Regions from separate parts of the Homo sapiens genome. Here all the other regions are linked to region 3. Evidence: promoter capture Hi-C in 16 types of primary human blood cells and fetal thymus (Javierre and others, 2016). All regions are on one chromosome and are shown on one strand. The core of a region is centred on a gene start or on the middle of the fragment in contact, and the rest is flanking DNA. Distances in the headings are between cores, read along the strand shown.

Region 1 (4,900 bases), core at 826-3,325, 160 kb after region 3:
AGGGAATCTCACCTATCAAAGACCATTGCATGGAAGACAGGGACCAGTTATTCGTTTGCTTTGTTTCACTCCACTGTCATATCCCACTGTCATATCAACAAGAGGAAACATATTCAAGCTGCAAAACCTGGGCTTTAGGTTTAACATGTTAAAGGAAAAATAAATATGCTATAAAATATTCCAGTGGTAACTGGGATGCTGAAGGAAAGTGGAAGGGGTGGTGGTATTTACAAAACAGTTGAATTCTGAGATGTTCACATCAGTTTTACTGCAGTCTCTCCTGAGGTAGAACAGACTGCAAACTACCAAATATTTCTCTCTAATAAGGGAAGACATCAAGACAGCTTTACTTCTTCCCCGCCAATTTGGATTGTTTTTCTTTTTTTGAGATGGAGTTTTTTGCTCTTGTCGCCCAGGCTGGAGTGCAATGGTGTGATCTCAGCTCAGTGCAACCTCCGCCTCCCGGGTTCAAGCAATTCTTCTGCCTCAGCCTCCTGAGTAGCTGGGATTACAGGTGCCCACCACCATCCCCGGTTATTTTATTTTATTTTATTTTTTGTACTTTTAGTAGAGACAGGGTTTCACCATCTCAGCCAGGCTGGTCTCAAACTCCTGACCTCAGATGATCCACCCACCTCAGCCTCCCAAAGTGCTGGGATTACAGGCATGAGCCACTGTGCCTGGCCGTGGATTGTTTTTTTTTTAAGTTTCTTTTTCATGCCTGGTTGTATTGGCTAGAACCTCCAATATGGTGTTGAGTAGAAATGGTGTGAGCAGATATCCTTGTCTTGGTTAAACAAATAACTATAAATACGTTGTAGGTAATGACAGCCAAGTTTCTCACATCAAAGAATGAATATGCAAGGGGAAAATGCTAGAATTAACCCTGTAGTGCTGAATTTGAGTCAGACATACCACTATAAACTAATGTTTATTTTAACATAGATACAAATAGAGAAATAGTATAGATATGTGTGTATACGTGGATATAAATACATGTATCTCCTAGCCCTGTTCACCGAGAGCCTAGAAGCAGTGACACCTGATAACCAAAAGCATTTCTAGTACCCAGGTCTAGTTTCCCATATACCATTCTCTAGTAAAAAGAATCAGGGCTCCCTGAAAAATGGCTGATTCTAGGACAGGGAAAATACAAGATAAGCCTGGAGCACCCTGTAGTGTCAGAGAGCAAGAAAGTGCTAAAAAACAAACAACGACAAAAAATCCCAGCCACCTGAAAGAGCTTCCAGTGGCCAAAGCTGGAAGATTTTAAGAAAAAAAATTATGATACTATTGGATTATAATACAAAGAATACAATACCCATAAATCCACACTAATATGCATAAATGATGAATAAGCAAATAAATGAGAGACAGAGGCCAAATTTTCTTTACAGGAGAATTACAATGAACAAATGTAGAAAGAATAAGGGAAATAGGAAATAATCATTAGAACACCATAGTAATAACTGCTATAGGGAACATCCACTAATGACTGCCAATATTCATGAAAAAACTTTATCAGAATACTTGAATAGCCTCATAACATCTTATCCACCGAAATATTTATTAATTATTATGGTAATTTTAGCATACATCCACAAATTATCTGATTCTCCTCCCTCCAGGAAGTGAAGCTTAATTTCCATCTCCTTGAGTGTGGGCTGAACTCCTAAAAAATAGAAAGGGAAAAAGAAACATACTAACTTTACAGTGGAGAAACCTTGTAGACACCACCTAAACCTAGTGATCAGGGTAGCAATACCAGCAACATGTCATGATGATATTATATACCCTTTGATATGATGAGAAGGGCACTGCACTTTTATGGTATCTATCCCCTCCTCCAATTTTTTATTTATTTATTTTGAGACATGGTCTCATTCTGTCACCCAGGCTTGAGTGTAGTGGCGCAATCATGGCTTACTGCAGCCTCAAACTCCTGGACTCAAACCATCTTCCCACCTTGGCTTTCTGAGTAGCTGGGACTACAGGTGTGTGCCACTATGCCTTGCTAATTTTTTTTTTTAAGAGACAGGATCTCACATGTTACCCAGGCTGGTCTCAAACTCCTGGGCTCAAGTAATCTTCCCACCTCATTCTCCAAAAGTGCTGGGATTACAGGCATTAGCCGCACAGCACCTGACCCCCTCCCCCAATCTATAAACCAAGTCTAATCATGAGAAAACATCAGATAAACTCAAATTGAAGACTTTCTGCAAAACACCTAACCACTACTCTTTAAATATATCAAGGTCATAAGTTATAGCTAATAAACCAACAAAAAAGACCAAACAAAGTTACCCAATAGAAAAGAAGGCATAAAAAGAACAAAAGAACAAAGAACAGATGAAACAAAGGAAAACAAATGCAAGAGAAAAGACTTAAACCTAACTATATCAGTAAACGCAATGTAAATAGTCTAAACATCCCAATTAAATGGCATATATTGTTAGATTAGATTTTCTCCTAAAAAAGCAAGGCAACTTTAAATATAAAGATACAAAGCTTCAAAATAAAAGGATGAAAAAAGATATACTAAGTTAACACTAGCCAAAAGAAAAGTGGAGTGGCTATATTAGTATCAAAGTATATTTCAGAGCAAAGAATATTACCAGGGATAAAAAAGGTTAGTTCATAATGATAAAGGAAGTCATTTCATAACAATAAATTTAAAAATCGATAAAGAGGTCAATTCATCAAAAGAACATAAAAATTCTAAACATGTATGTACCTAGTAACAGAGCTTCAAAATATATTATGCAAAAACTGAAAAGAACTGCAAGGAGAAATAAACAAATCCATAGGATTCTTTGTTCGAGATTTCAACACTACTCTCAATAGCAGAACAAGTGGACAGAAAATCAGTAAGAATGCTGATTTTTAAAAATTCTATCGACTAACTTGACCTACTTCACATTTATAGAACACCTAACCCAAAGACAGCAGAATACATATTTTTGACAAGTGCAAATGGGACATTTACCAAGGTAGACCATATTCCGAGCCATAAAACAAATCACAATACGTTTTAAAAGATTCAAGTCATACAAAGTTTGTTTTCTGACCACAGTGAAATTAAAATAGAGATCAGTACAGAAAGGCATCTGAAAAATCCTAATGTTTGGAAACTAACACATTTCTCAATAATCTGTAAGTCAAAGAAGAATCAAAAGGGAAATTAAAAAGTGTTTTAGCTTGGTCCTGGTACCAAAAGAGAGATAGAGACCAATGGAACACAACAGAGCCCTCAGAAATAATACCACACATCTACAACCATCTGATCTTTGACAAACCTGACAAAAACAAGAAATGGGGAAAGGATTCCCTATTTAATAAATGGTGCTGGGAAAACTGGCTAGCCATATGTAGAAAGCTGAAACTGGATCCGTTCCTCACACCTTATACAAAAATTAATTCAAGATGGATTAAAGACTTAAATGTTAGACCTAAAACCATAAAAACCCTAGAAGAAAACCATTCAGGACATAGGCATGGGCAAGGACTTCATGTCTAAAACATCAAAAGCAATAGCAACAAAAGCCAAAATTGACAAATGGGATCTAATTAAAACTAAAGAGCTTCTGCACAGCAAAAGAAACTACCATCACAGTGAACAGGCAACCTACAGAATGGGAGAAAATTTTTGCAACCTACTCATCTGACAAAGGGCTAATATCCAGAATCTACAATGAACTCAAACAAATTTACAAGAAAAAAACAAACAAACCCATCAACAAGTGGGCAAAGGATATGAACAGACACTTCTGAAAAGAAGACATTTATGCAGCCAAAAGACACATGAAGAAATGCTCATCATCACTGGCCATCAGACAAATGCACATCAAAACCACAATGAGATACCATCTCACACCAGTTAGAATTGCGATCATTAAAAAGTCAGGAAACAACAGGTGCTGGAGAGGATGTGGAGAAACAGGAACACTTTTACACTGTTGGTGGGACTGTAAACTAGTTCAACCGTTGTGGAAGACAGTGTGGCGATTCCTCAGGGATCTAGAACTAGAAATACCTTTTGACCCAGCCATCCCATTACTGGGTATATACCCAAAGGATTATAAATCATGCTGCTATAAAGACACATGCACACGGATGTTTATTGCGGCACTATTCACAATAGCAAAGACTTGGAACCAACCCAAATGTCCATTAATGATAGACTGGATTAAGAAAATGTGGCACATATACACCATGGAATACTATGCAGCCATAAAAGATGATGAGTTCATGTCCTTTGTTGGGATATGGATGAAGCTGGAAACCATCATTCTCAGCAAACTATCACAAGGACAAAAAACCAAACACCGCGTGTTCTCACTCAGAGGTGGGAATTGAACAATGAGAACACTTGGACACAGGAAGGGGAACATCACACACCAGGGCCTGTCGTGGGGTAGGGGAAGCGGGGAGGGTTAGCATTAGGAGATATACCTAATGTAAATGACGAGTTAATGGGTGCAGCACACCAACACAGCACATGTATACATATGTAACAAACCTGCACGTTGTGCACATGTACCCTTAAAGTATTAAAAAAAAAAAAAACCAGACAGTCCAGTCCCAGAACCCACATTGTCAATTACTACTCTGTAAAAGATTCATTTGTTGAAATTCATTGAGTAAAACATTTATGATCCCTTAATATATGCCAGTTACCATGCTAGGTACTGAAGATTCAAGTGACCGAGATGCTAGCCCTTGGGTTCAAGTGATCCCTCTCCCAGAGTGCACTGGACTGGAGTGCTCTGTTGATGACCTTGCTGGGTATTACTTGGAGCCCACTCCAGGCCCTAGCCCATCACACAGAAGACAGCATATATAACTTTCTCTTTGGTCTGTGGCTTCAGACCTCAAATGAGACAAGATTTTCATGCTCTAT
Region 2 (5,009 bases), core at 1,563-4,062, 250 kb after region 3:
ACACCAACAAACCAACTGCCTTGTACTCTTTCTATTTTGGCAGGGTCTGGATAGGATAGAAACATTGGGCTGTTGGGGTTGGAAGGCATGTCAGTAGGGGCAGGGAGGTATGGAATACATATAAGGAAGTTCCAGAGCTCAGAGAAGCAATTTAGAGAATCTGAGTGGACTAGTTGGCCCAATTACTACAGAAGAGGAAACTGAGGCCCAAAAAGGCAAACTGTCTTATTCCAACCCACCTTGCTTTTTGGTGGCAGAAATGGGAACAGAACATAAGTCTTCTGACTCCTAATCCTGAGCCCTTCCAATGACTGCAAACTACCTCCCAAGAATTGGTCTCAAAGAGGGACATAGCACCCAAACCAGGCTGAGCCTGAGGTCTACTTCTGGCCTGGAGAGGAAAAGTCAGACGGAGACAGAGAGCCCATCCCACAGAATGATAATAGCCTCTTGGGGTGTGTGCTTCCCCAACCCCACCTTCCCCATGATCCTGGCAAGGGCTGTGGATGTCAGAGCTTCTCCTGGGGAATTGGAGATCAGAGAGGAAAGTTTGGAGAGGGTTCACCCTGCAATGGGGCCAGGCCTGGGACCGAGACCCCATCTGCAGGCTTTCCTGATGACCCCTCCTTGGCACTCAGCATTGATGGGAATCCCACTGTCTCCTTTCCTGCCTGCCCCTTGGAGAAAGAGATGGGCTGAGAGCCTTGTTCTGGCTTCTGGCTCTGACTCCTGCTCTCCTGCTTGGACTGAGCCAAGAGGGTGAGAAGAATGGGAAAAGAGAAATAAAATTAGCTGCAGGATGAAAGATGCCCATCTGCTGTGTGGGTGAGGGAGCCCTGAGGAGGAAGGTGGACTACTTGGACAGCCAGCTAAGAGACTGAGTTGGGGATTCCTGACTTTCACAGACCCTAAGGAGCAGACAGTGTCGGGGAGGTCGGAGGATAGAATAGAAATGATGGAGATGTTGGAGCCAGTTAAGTTTGGGCTTAAGTGCTTTATGGCCTGATTCAAGTTACCTAACCTCTCTGAACTCAGTTTCTTATACCATAACATGGGGCAAAAATACTATCAACCCAACAGAGCTATTTTGAAGGCTACACAGATAAATGCACCAGAATTTCTGGAACACAGTAGGTGCTTCTAAGTGCTAGTTCCCATTCTTTCCATTATTCCAGCTGGGTCCAGTCACCCCCGTTTGCCCTCCAAGCTTCTGAGAGCAGAGCTGACCAAGCAGGCTCCAGGAGATGCTTCCCTGCCTGTTTTGGCAGCAGAGGGTCCACTGTGTTCAGTGTGTTCTTTGAGGGACCTCTTCCTTATGGGAGCTTCTTGGGAGTCACCACCAGGCACAGAGAGCTCTGGGTTGCAGATGAGATCCTTCTGTTATCTTCATATGTTTCTAAAGCAGCTATGCAGAGTGATCACCACAGTAGACGTGGGGTTCTAAAGAAAGGCGGCTGCTTGAAGGACAGGTGTGGCAGGAAGTGCGGCTAGGGAGGGGCCCCACACTGAGGGGCTTGCTCTAGACTTGAGAGGCTAATAGGCCACATCTACACAGCCGTGGGCCCTTCTGCTGTCTCTGGCACAGCAGGAAGAGATGGGATTTGCAGGCAGACAGGTGCAAGTTCAAATCTCAGCTTCATCACTTTCTGCTGCATGTCTCTGGGCAAGGGGTTTGACCTTGAAGCCTCCATTTCCTCATCTGTGAAAAGAGGACAATACTTCACTCAGGTACTTAATCTCACTTTGAAGATGACGTTGAGATAGGTACAATGTTTAATCTCCACTCAATAAATGGTCCCACGGACAGTGCTTCCAAGGACAGTCCTTTCAGATGGCAATAGTGCTAAACAGTACCTACAACCAGATGGGTGGTCTTGAGCTGAAGGCAAGACCTTAACTGCTTCATTCACCTCTGACTTCATCTGTCTTTTAGCTTTGTTTAAATTAGGCCCAGGAGTCATTCCCTCCCAATCTCTCACCCTTAGGAACCCTCCCATTCGTGCCCAGTCTCTCACCTTTTTACGCACCCTATCAGCCTGAGGAAAAATCCAGTTAGTTACCACATCTAGAAGTGACCAAGTGTCACCTGGCTGCTGGCTTACCTGGGATGTAACCAGTACTTCTCCTTTCTAGGATGGCTCTTGGGCAAGTAGCTGAGGCTCACAGGCAGAGGTCTTTGGGAGAGGCATGGCCATCTCTGTGTTCTGAGCTGCTTCTCCAGCAGCCAGGCCCTCTGTTAGGGAGCTGGCCCAGACCCCCTCCCTGGCCTCTCAGACCCCCCAGGGTGCCTGCCCAGTGTGGGGCGCATGACCCACCTTTTGCCCTTTGTGCTCCTTTGTCCACTCACCACAGACCCTTTCACACCTCAGTTAGCCACTTAGGGAGACAAAGCGCTAGTGCGAGTAGGGGAAGCTGTCCAGACCGAGATGAATGGCTCCGAAGCCTGCTGTTGCCATGGCAGCCAGCTGGGAACACCGTTTCCAGGGCCCAAGGTGCTCAGACATGCATGGGGGGTGCTGCCCTGCTGGGTTGCTGCCCACTCTCCGGCCCCCACCCTGCATTCTCAGCTTCCTTAGCAACAGCTGATGCTGTTGCCACCACCGCTGCAGCTTCGGCCCTGGCCCGGGGCAGTGTGAGGGAAGCCAGGATCGGGGGCTGGTGTAGGAGTGTGTGGGAGGGCAGAGCCTAGGTATGAAGTTGGAGAGGAAAAGGAAAGGAAAGACTTGGCAATTTTCCCCATGATACTAGTGATAAGATTATAAGGATGTTTCCTAATTATACAGAAAAGAGGCTCATAAACTTAGGCTCCAACGGACCCCTTTGTGATCTGGTGATCACCTCAACTTGTAAGAGCATGCCTGTGTCCCTGGGTATATGTGAATTTTTCTGAAACAATGGTTTATAGTTTTTATCAGATTTTTCAAAGATGACTAAGGTCCCCAATAGGTAAGAACCTTAATTAGAGACATTTTGCTTTTTAGAATCAGAATGATCTCAGGGACTGGTTGGCCAGGTTGATTTGAGAGATATGCTTACAAAGAGGAATGAATACGACACAGGGCGGGGAGTGGGGCAGGTGGCGTGCTTCCCTGTGCCTGCCCCAACCAAGAGTCCCCAGGATCTAGCATCTGCCTTGCTGTGGACCTCTAGGACTAGGGGACGGGGAATCTTCCTCCTAACACGGTCCATCCTTCGCAGCCCCTGTCCTCTTGCAGCTTTGTCCTGGGGGCCGAGTGTGCTATTAGCTTGTGCTCCCTCCATGCTGGGCCAGAGCTCAGTGTTTTATATACTCTGTTCTCACGATCCCATCTAACCCCCACACAGCACTGTGGGGAGGGTGGTCTCACCCCTGCCATTGAAAAGATGAGAGTATTGGAATGATAAGAAAACTTCCGTGACTTGTCCAAGTTCGTGCCGTTAGAAGTTGGAGAAGCCCCAGGTAGCTTAGAGGAGTGGTGAAGAGTCCGGCCCTGGGCCAGAGTCAGATGAGAGCTGCAGCCCTTATGAGCTAGGGGACCCCGGCCTCTACTCTCAAAGCTGCAAATTAAGGATCCTGATAACTCCCGCCGCAGAGGACAGTGGTGGGAGTTAAATGAGTTGAAACGGTTTGCGAAGTGCATAGGACAGTATCTACCACTAGATAAAAAGTGGAATTAGAATAGCATTCAGCCATGAGTCTGCCTAATTCTAAAGCTCATACAGAGAGGACTTTTGTGGGGGAGGGCTTCTGACCCTAATGCCAGAGCTGGGTTATGGCATAATAGTCACGCATTGCCACTTACTAATTGAGTGTGGGTGGGCTACGTGCATGTTTCAGGCCTCAGCTTTCTTACCTCTAGGGAACACCATGTTCTATAGAGGATGATTGTATAGTGAGCACTATTGATTACGTAAAGATCAAATGAAACAACGTCGGGAAAGTTCTTGGTAAACTGTGCCATATACTACAGCAATGCACTCAGTGCCCTGGCACTGAGGCCCGGCTCGTGCCCCAAGAATCGGGAAAGTTCTTGGTAAACTGTGCCATATACTACAGCAATGCACTCAGTACCCTGGCACTGAGGCCCGGCTCGTGCCCCACGGGGCTGTGTGCCCTTCCCTTGGCTGGCAGCTCAGGGCAGGGAGCCCAGTGTGATACCCGCTGAGGAGGGAGATGGCATAATGCCCTTGGGTGCCCATGTGCCCGGGTCAGCAGCCAAGAGCAGGATGCTTAGGAATTCCACCGAGGCAGCTGGGCCCCGGCTTCATTGGCAGGGGCAGAAGGGAGGCAGGTGTGAGGGAGGCCAGAGCGGGGCTCGAGGAAAAGAGGCTGGGTGGGCCATGGAACACTTTCCAAGGGGTGTCACAGAGCCACGCCAAGTGTGTGTCACCCTTCTCTATGAGGATGTGTGATTAGTGGAAATGAGAACAAGCTTTATTAGTCACTGCTGAGGAGAAACACCACGAAGAATTATCCAACCTGCTAATGGAAGGGTGCACAGGCCTCTGTAGGCTGCTGGAAGGGAGGAGTTTCATGTCCTCTTTTCTTTTTGCCCCCAGAAGACTCATGTTGCTGAGAGCAGATGGTGAGGGGGAAGAGGGTGGGTCCTCATCCTTGAGTCATTTGCTGCCGGGGTACCTTTTTGGGGCTCTGGGAAGTACAGCAAGCATGTTGGACGGATAGGCAGCCTGTTTGCAGGGGGGCGAGGGTCGGCCCGAGGAGGCGCCGCTGGGAATGACTCGTGCCCAGTCAGAAGCTGTAATTGGAGGTGATTAATCTGTGGAGGACAGCGTGGGGAGTCAGCGCTGACTCAGGACCCAGGCGGGCCGCTCCCCTCTCCCACTTCACCTGCCTCAGGCGGCAGAGGGAGGCTGCTTGGAAAGGCTAATGATTCAGAGGCCCTTAAAACAGAAGGATGAGCAGCTGAGGCTCCAGATCAAAGATGTTTTAACCCTTTAATGGTCCAGTGGTAATGTGAAGAGGTTGAGGGTCTTCCCTCGGAGTCGGGGCCCTGGACACGCGAAGCACT
Region 3 (4,882 bases), core at 467-2,966:
CAGAGCAAACTCAGCATGAGACTAAGTGACAGCTGGACGCTTAAGCATTAAATGTATGTGCTGGAAACGACTGTGCGGAAGGTAAGTCCTCACGCTGGGCCCCCAAAATCGGAGGCTCAGGTTCCCGGCCAGGATGCACTTGTAGGGTAACGAGATCCTGGAGGTGAGGGGCCGGCACTCACGTGGTGACAGTATTGAAGCCACAGGCCTTCAGCTTCAGCAGGCGGTCCCTCCAGTACTCCCTGGGCACCCGGAAATAGTGGATGGAGCCCCCGAAGATCAGGAACTTGTGGCCCTCCAGTGTGAAGTGGGGCTTACCCCGACCTGTGCTTTCAGTTCCAAGTCCCACAGATCGATTCTTCAGCTCCAGAGGGGTCAGATGAGACCAATTAAACCTGGAGGGGGCGGGCGAGGGAAAGAAAGTGGAAAGGGAGAGAGGATTCGGGAGAGGGCTCGGAGGCACGGCTGAAACCCTAGCGAAAAGAAGTTTTTGTTAGTAGGACGTGTTCTGTGCATATGTTAGTAGGACGTGTTCTGTGCATATGTTAGTAGGACGTGTTCTGTGCATATTCGCGATACTATTTTCTCCAAGAAAGGAGAGATCGCTCCCCTCCCTCCCCAGGGATGTAGCTCTCAAGCAAACCTAGGCTGGGACGGATGCGCTCTTCCAAGCATGAAGTTCTCTTCCTGCTTAAACCGAGGAGCAAAACCTGATGAGATAAATGGCAGGAAAAAGATGCCCGCCATTCTCTTCCAGGAGAGACACGGGCTGAAAGGAGAAAGGACAACAGTGACAAGGGGAAGGTTCCGGCCCCACCGGGCTGCAAGGGCCGGGAAGCTGTGCCGGGGGCGCTTTAGAGGCCAGAGCCAGGGAGGGGGCCCGCGACACAGGCGGGTCTTCCAGGCGGGCCCAGGGCCAGGACAGCGCGGCATCACCCGGCCAGTCCTCTGCAGCCAGGATGAAGGCCGGGGACAGACGTTCAGTCCTAGACCCTCCAGACAGGGCTGGGCAGTGCCGGTGGGTGCCTGGGAGAGGCGGAGGCGGGCGCACTTCCAGCACCAGGTTCGGGAAGGACACGGTGCCCAGCCGCTGGAGCCCCTGGCCTGCGTGCCCCACCCTGATTTTCTGGCATCTGGTGAACGGCCCCTCCGCAGGGTGGGGGTAGCCAGGGGATCTGCCGAGGAAAGCTGGGGACAGCGGGCTTGGTGGCGCGGCCCGGCGCGGCGCGTGCCTGGGGCGCGTGGCCGGCCACAGAACCCGGGGAGGGTGGAGGCTCCCGGGCACGCGCCGGGGTGGTGGGCAGCCCGGGACGGCAGCGGCGATCCGTCACCTGAGGAGGGGCGGGGACTTCATCGCGGCCAGGCCGAGGCGCCGAGGGTCCCTTGCGGCTTCCGCCCCTCTCCGCTGGCCCCGACGCCGCGCTCGGGCCGGGACTCGAGCCCCGGTTCCGCGGGGCAGGCTCAGGTCTGCGCGCTGCGCCTGCAGCCGAGGCAGAAATCCGTCCCGAGGCGCGGGCGCCGGGTCCGGGTCCCAAGGATGCGCGTCGGGCTCCCTCCCGCGGGGACAGCCGAGCTCCGCCGGCGCTCCAGGTGTTCCCGCAGTGCGTCCGGGCGCGGACGCCTCTCTGCCCTCGGAGGGGAAGCGGGAGGGCCCTTGGGGTAACGCCCCGACCTCGGGCTTCCTAACCTGGGTCGACAGCCGGCTGGCACAGGGAGGCCTGCGCGGGAGAGGGGCGGAGAGAGCGCAGCGCGGGGCACAGCGGGCGGTCTCCGTGCCGCGCGCGCGACTGGAAACGGCGTGCAGATCCTAAAACGAGGGTTCCACAGAGGGCCACGAGGGGCAGGAGAGAGTCCCCGGAGAACTCTAGCTCCCCGACACGGCTACCTCTTGGCAAACGAGCGAGAATTGGGGCGCAGAGCCTTGGGAGGGCCGTTCCCTCGGCGGGAGCGGCCCGAGCACAGCCTCACAGCAGATGCGAGCGCGGCGGGCGCTTTGGTGACGAAGTAGCGGGACCTGCAGGAGGCAGAGGCCTGGTGGGGCCGTGGACGCCACGCCGAGCTGCCCAGACCCTTCCAGAAGACAGTGGGGACTATTCAACGGTTTCCAGCAGAAACTAAGCCAGGTGTTCGTTTTACGGAGATTGCTCGGCTGCAGGGTGGAGGCTGGATGAGAACAGGCGTCCTCTCAGGTAGGCGCTCGTGGTGGTAACGCTGCCCAGGAGGAGGGCACGGGTTCCGGGAAGACTTGCGAGGTTAAACCGGCAGCTCCGGAGAACTGAGCGCAAGAGGTCGGTGACACAGAGAGGAGTCCGGGAGGCCGCATGTTTCAGGCTGAAGTCACTTGGCGGGGACGTTTATTGAGATGCGAAACACAGGAAGGGATAGAGGCTGCGCAGAGGGAAAAGGCGATGGACTCGGTTTTGGAAACGCTGATGTGAAGTCCCTACGATGAAAAAAGAAATCTTCCGATTTCTCCCTTTGAAGTCTTTGCTTCTTCCGTTGCAAAGAACACAGCCTATGACATCAGGTTGAAACCAAGAATGTAGTTCTCTGAAAATACTGTGTGTGGGGGAGGGAGTTTATCTTGTCTCATTCCTTACAAGGATACTTTGCTCTCCGACACCTTAGCTCCCTGAAAGTTTCCTAGATCGTCCATCTTTTCCTCATTTTTTCGACTGCAAGCAATGAACTGTTAATTTTTTACAGTTTGGTTTTACAGCCACACACTTTATTCTTCTTTGTCAAGTTTAAAGTATTCTAGGGCTTGTGCCTTCCCACATAAAATTTAGAATAAACTTGTCTGTTTCTACAAAAAGCCATGTTGGTATTTCGAGAGGAATTGCAATCAACCTATGGATCAAATTGAGAATTGTATCCTTATTATGTTGAATCTTCCAACCCACGAACATGGTATGTCTGTCTATTTAAATAGTTTTTTTTTTTTCACTTCTTTCATCAGAATTGTGTGATTTTTTCAACATCAGATCCTATCACGTTTTGTTAGGTTTATACTTAAATATTTCCTTTGCTCTCAAGAGATTTAAACTGTTATTATTTTTATTTCAGTTTTTACATGTTTGTTGTTAGCATACAGAAATGTGATTGTGTTTCTCATGTTGATCTCATATCCTGTGACCTTGGCAAACTCACCTATTAATTTTAAGAGGTTATTTGTGTATTACTTGGCATTTTCCATGTAGATAATCATGTCATCTGCAAATATGGAGAGTTTTATTTCTACCTTTCCAGTCTGCGTGGCTTTTTATTCCTTTTTTTGTGTGTCTTAGTATGATGACTAAAATTTCTGTGTTGAATAAGAGCGGCAGGAACTGACACTGTTACCTTGTCCCCAGTGTCAGCTGGAAAACATTCTGTTTTTCACTATTAAGTATGATGACAGCTATAGGTTTTGTGTACATATTCTCTATCAAGTTGAAAGAGTTTGACAGCTGGGCCTGCAGTCACTAGAAATGCTGTGGTGCTTTATTGGAACAAGCTATGTATCAAGAATTGTGATTTTCTGCAGGCGTTGCTGGAGGAATTTTGACAAAGGTAGAAGAATCAAATAATGGATTATTGGTTCATTTGAAAGATGACATATCCTGTGTCCTTTTGCCATCTGGGGCTCCCCTCTGCTGATGGAGTATTTGAGAACCTCTATGAAGGAGCCCTGGAGAGTGAAAGTTCCCCCAGATTTCTGTGCTCATTAAACCTGTAGAACTCTTGAAAATGTGCAAGGTGAAGTAACAATTTTGATCAAACAAAGCTGTCAGTTTCTGTCTTGAGATTACAGAAGTAACTCTACAAGGCCAACATCCCAAGCACAGGAAAGACCAGCCACTAGGGCCGCAGACCCAGCATCCTGGTACAATTTATTAAAAAAAAAAAAAAAAATCAATATTTTTCCCTTCAGTTTCCATCCAGATAACTGATAATGAAACAAAGAGCTAATTTCCCAAAGCAGGCAGAAAGCATCAAAAAGCTCCCAGAGCTGAGTGTGCAAACTTCCTGTGCCAGTGCTTTGATGTTAATAAAGCACAATTCCTGCTCCTAAATTGCTCTCTTGTAAGAACAGCAGCTTCCAGAAAAAGAAGGCAGCACTTTCTGTTGCTTTAGTAGTGGACAACCCTATAGGAGTTAATGTATGAACCAGAAAAGACAATTCTTGATTTCTTCTTAGGTTGAACTTCTTAAAGAAATGTATGTGACAACTGTATAATAAGAACCCTTGTGAGATCCAAAAACCTGGGTTAGGAACTAATATTATCAGTGAAAAATTAAAGGGAAAGATTATCAACTATTAATATTCCAGTGTCAGAGAGCTGTGAACAAAGAGTTGAGGCAGAGATATCTTTAAGGTTAAAGTATGCAAAATCTGTTGTTTACTTGTAAGATCATCTTTCTAGGTTTATTGATAGTTAATAAAAAGCAGCAAAATTTATAAAAGTGAAAATTTAGCCACTTCTACTTGTAAGCCATCCTTGTTAGAGAAACTCTTTGTTTACTTAAGTCATGTTTACTACAGGAAATGAAAAATGCTCATTTGAGCTATAAAATGGACTCCGTGGTCTCTTAGTAATTAATTTAACCCATGATGACACGCAGTTCACAGGCTGAGATGGAGGGATAGGTAGATGACAGATACATCCCTGCTAGAGATCTTCAGAGCCCTAGCTTTAAATTTCATCCTTACAGACATTCAAACTTTAAGTAAATTGATAACCTGTCTCCCACAGATTAAAAAATAAATGAAGTGGATATGCACCCCATCACGCAGGGCCACTCCCAGCAGAGGGAAGTGAAGCAGCCGGCCTCCTGTCCCTCCACAGGGTAACTAACGCTCAAGTGCAGGCCTTTCTAAAGGAGCTGCTCAGCAGGCGGC

The links. The method cuts DNA at HindIII sites, captures the fragments that hold promoters and counts their contacts. A CHiCAGO score of 5 or more calls a contact.
Region 1: a contact is called between a fragment that was not itself captured here and the fragment with the promoter of GLB1L3 in region 3, in 1 of 17 cell types (total B cells). The highest score is 5.8, in total B cells.
Region 2: a fragment that was not itself captured here is called in contact with the fragment with the promoter of GLB1L3 in region 3 in 2 of 17 cell types (activated CD4 T cells and fetal thymus); the score reaches 6.6 in activated CD4 T cells.

Annotation. Positions count from the first base shown.
Region 1 is chr11:134,112,866-134,117,765 of GRCh38, reverse strand. The region is part of intron 1 of JAM3 (junctional adhesion molecule 3); the gene reads right to left. Among named protein-coding and RNA genes, the nearest start is that of SNORD153, 36 kb to the left of the region's middle. The HindIII fragment of the contact is 871 bases long and covers 1,640-2,510 here.
Region 2 is chr11:134,024,373-134,029,381 of GRCh38, reverse strand. It overlaps LINC02730 (long intergenic non-protein coding RNA 2730), which reads right to left. Exons shown (of 2, transcript NR_186708.1): 2 at 980-1,699. Among named protein-coding and RNA genes, the nearest start is that of LINC02731, 5.4 kb to the left of the region's middle. RefSeq lists enhancers at 1,868-2,438, 2,439-3,010, 4,444-5,009. The HindIII fragment of the contact is 3,205 bases long and covers 1,210-4,414 here.
Region 3 is chr11:134,273,213-134,278,094 of GRCh38, reverse strand. It overlaps GLB1L3 (galactosidase beta 1 like 3), which reads right to left and starts at 1,716. Exons shown (of 20, transcript NM_001080407.3): 1 at 1,332-1,716; 2 at 644-769; 3 at 183-395. The coding sequence starts at 1,354. RefSeq lists a silencer at 1,538-1,607 and enhancers at 2,058-2,107, 2,258-2,387, 2,448-2,557, 4,698-4,882. The HindIII fragment of the contact is 7,995 bases long and covers 1-4,882 here.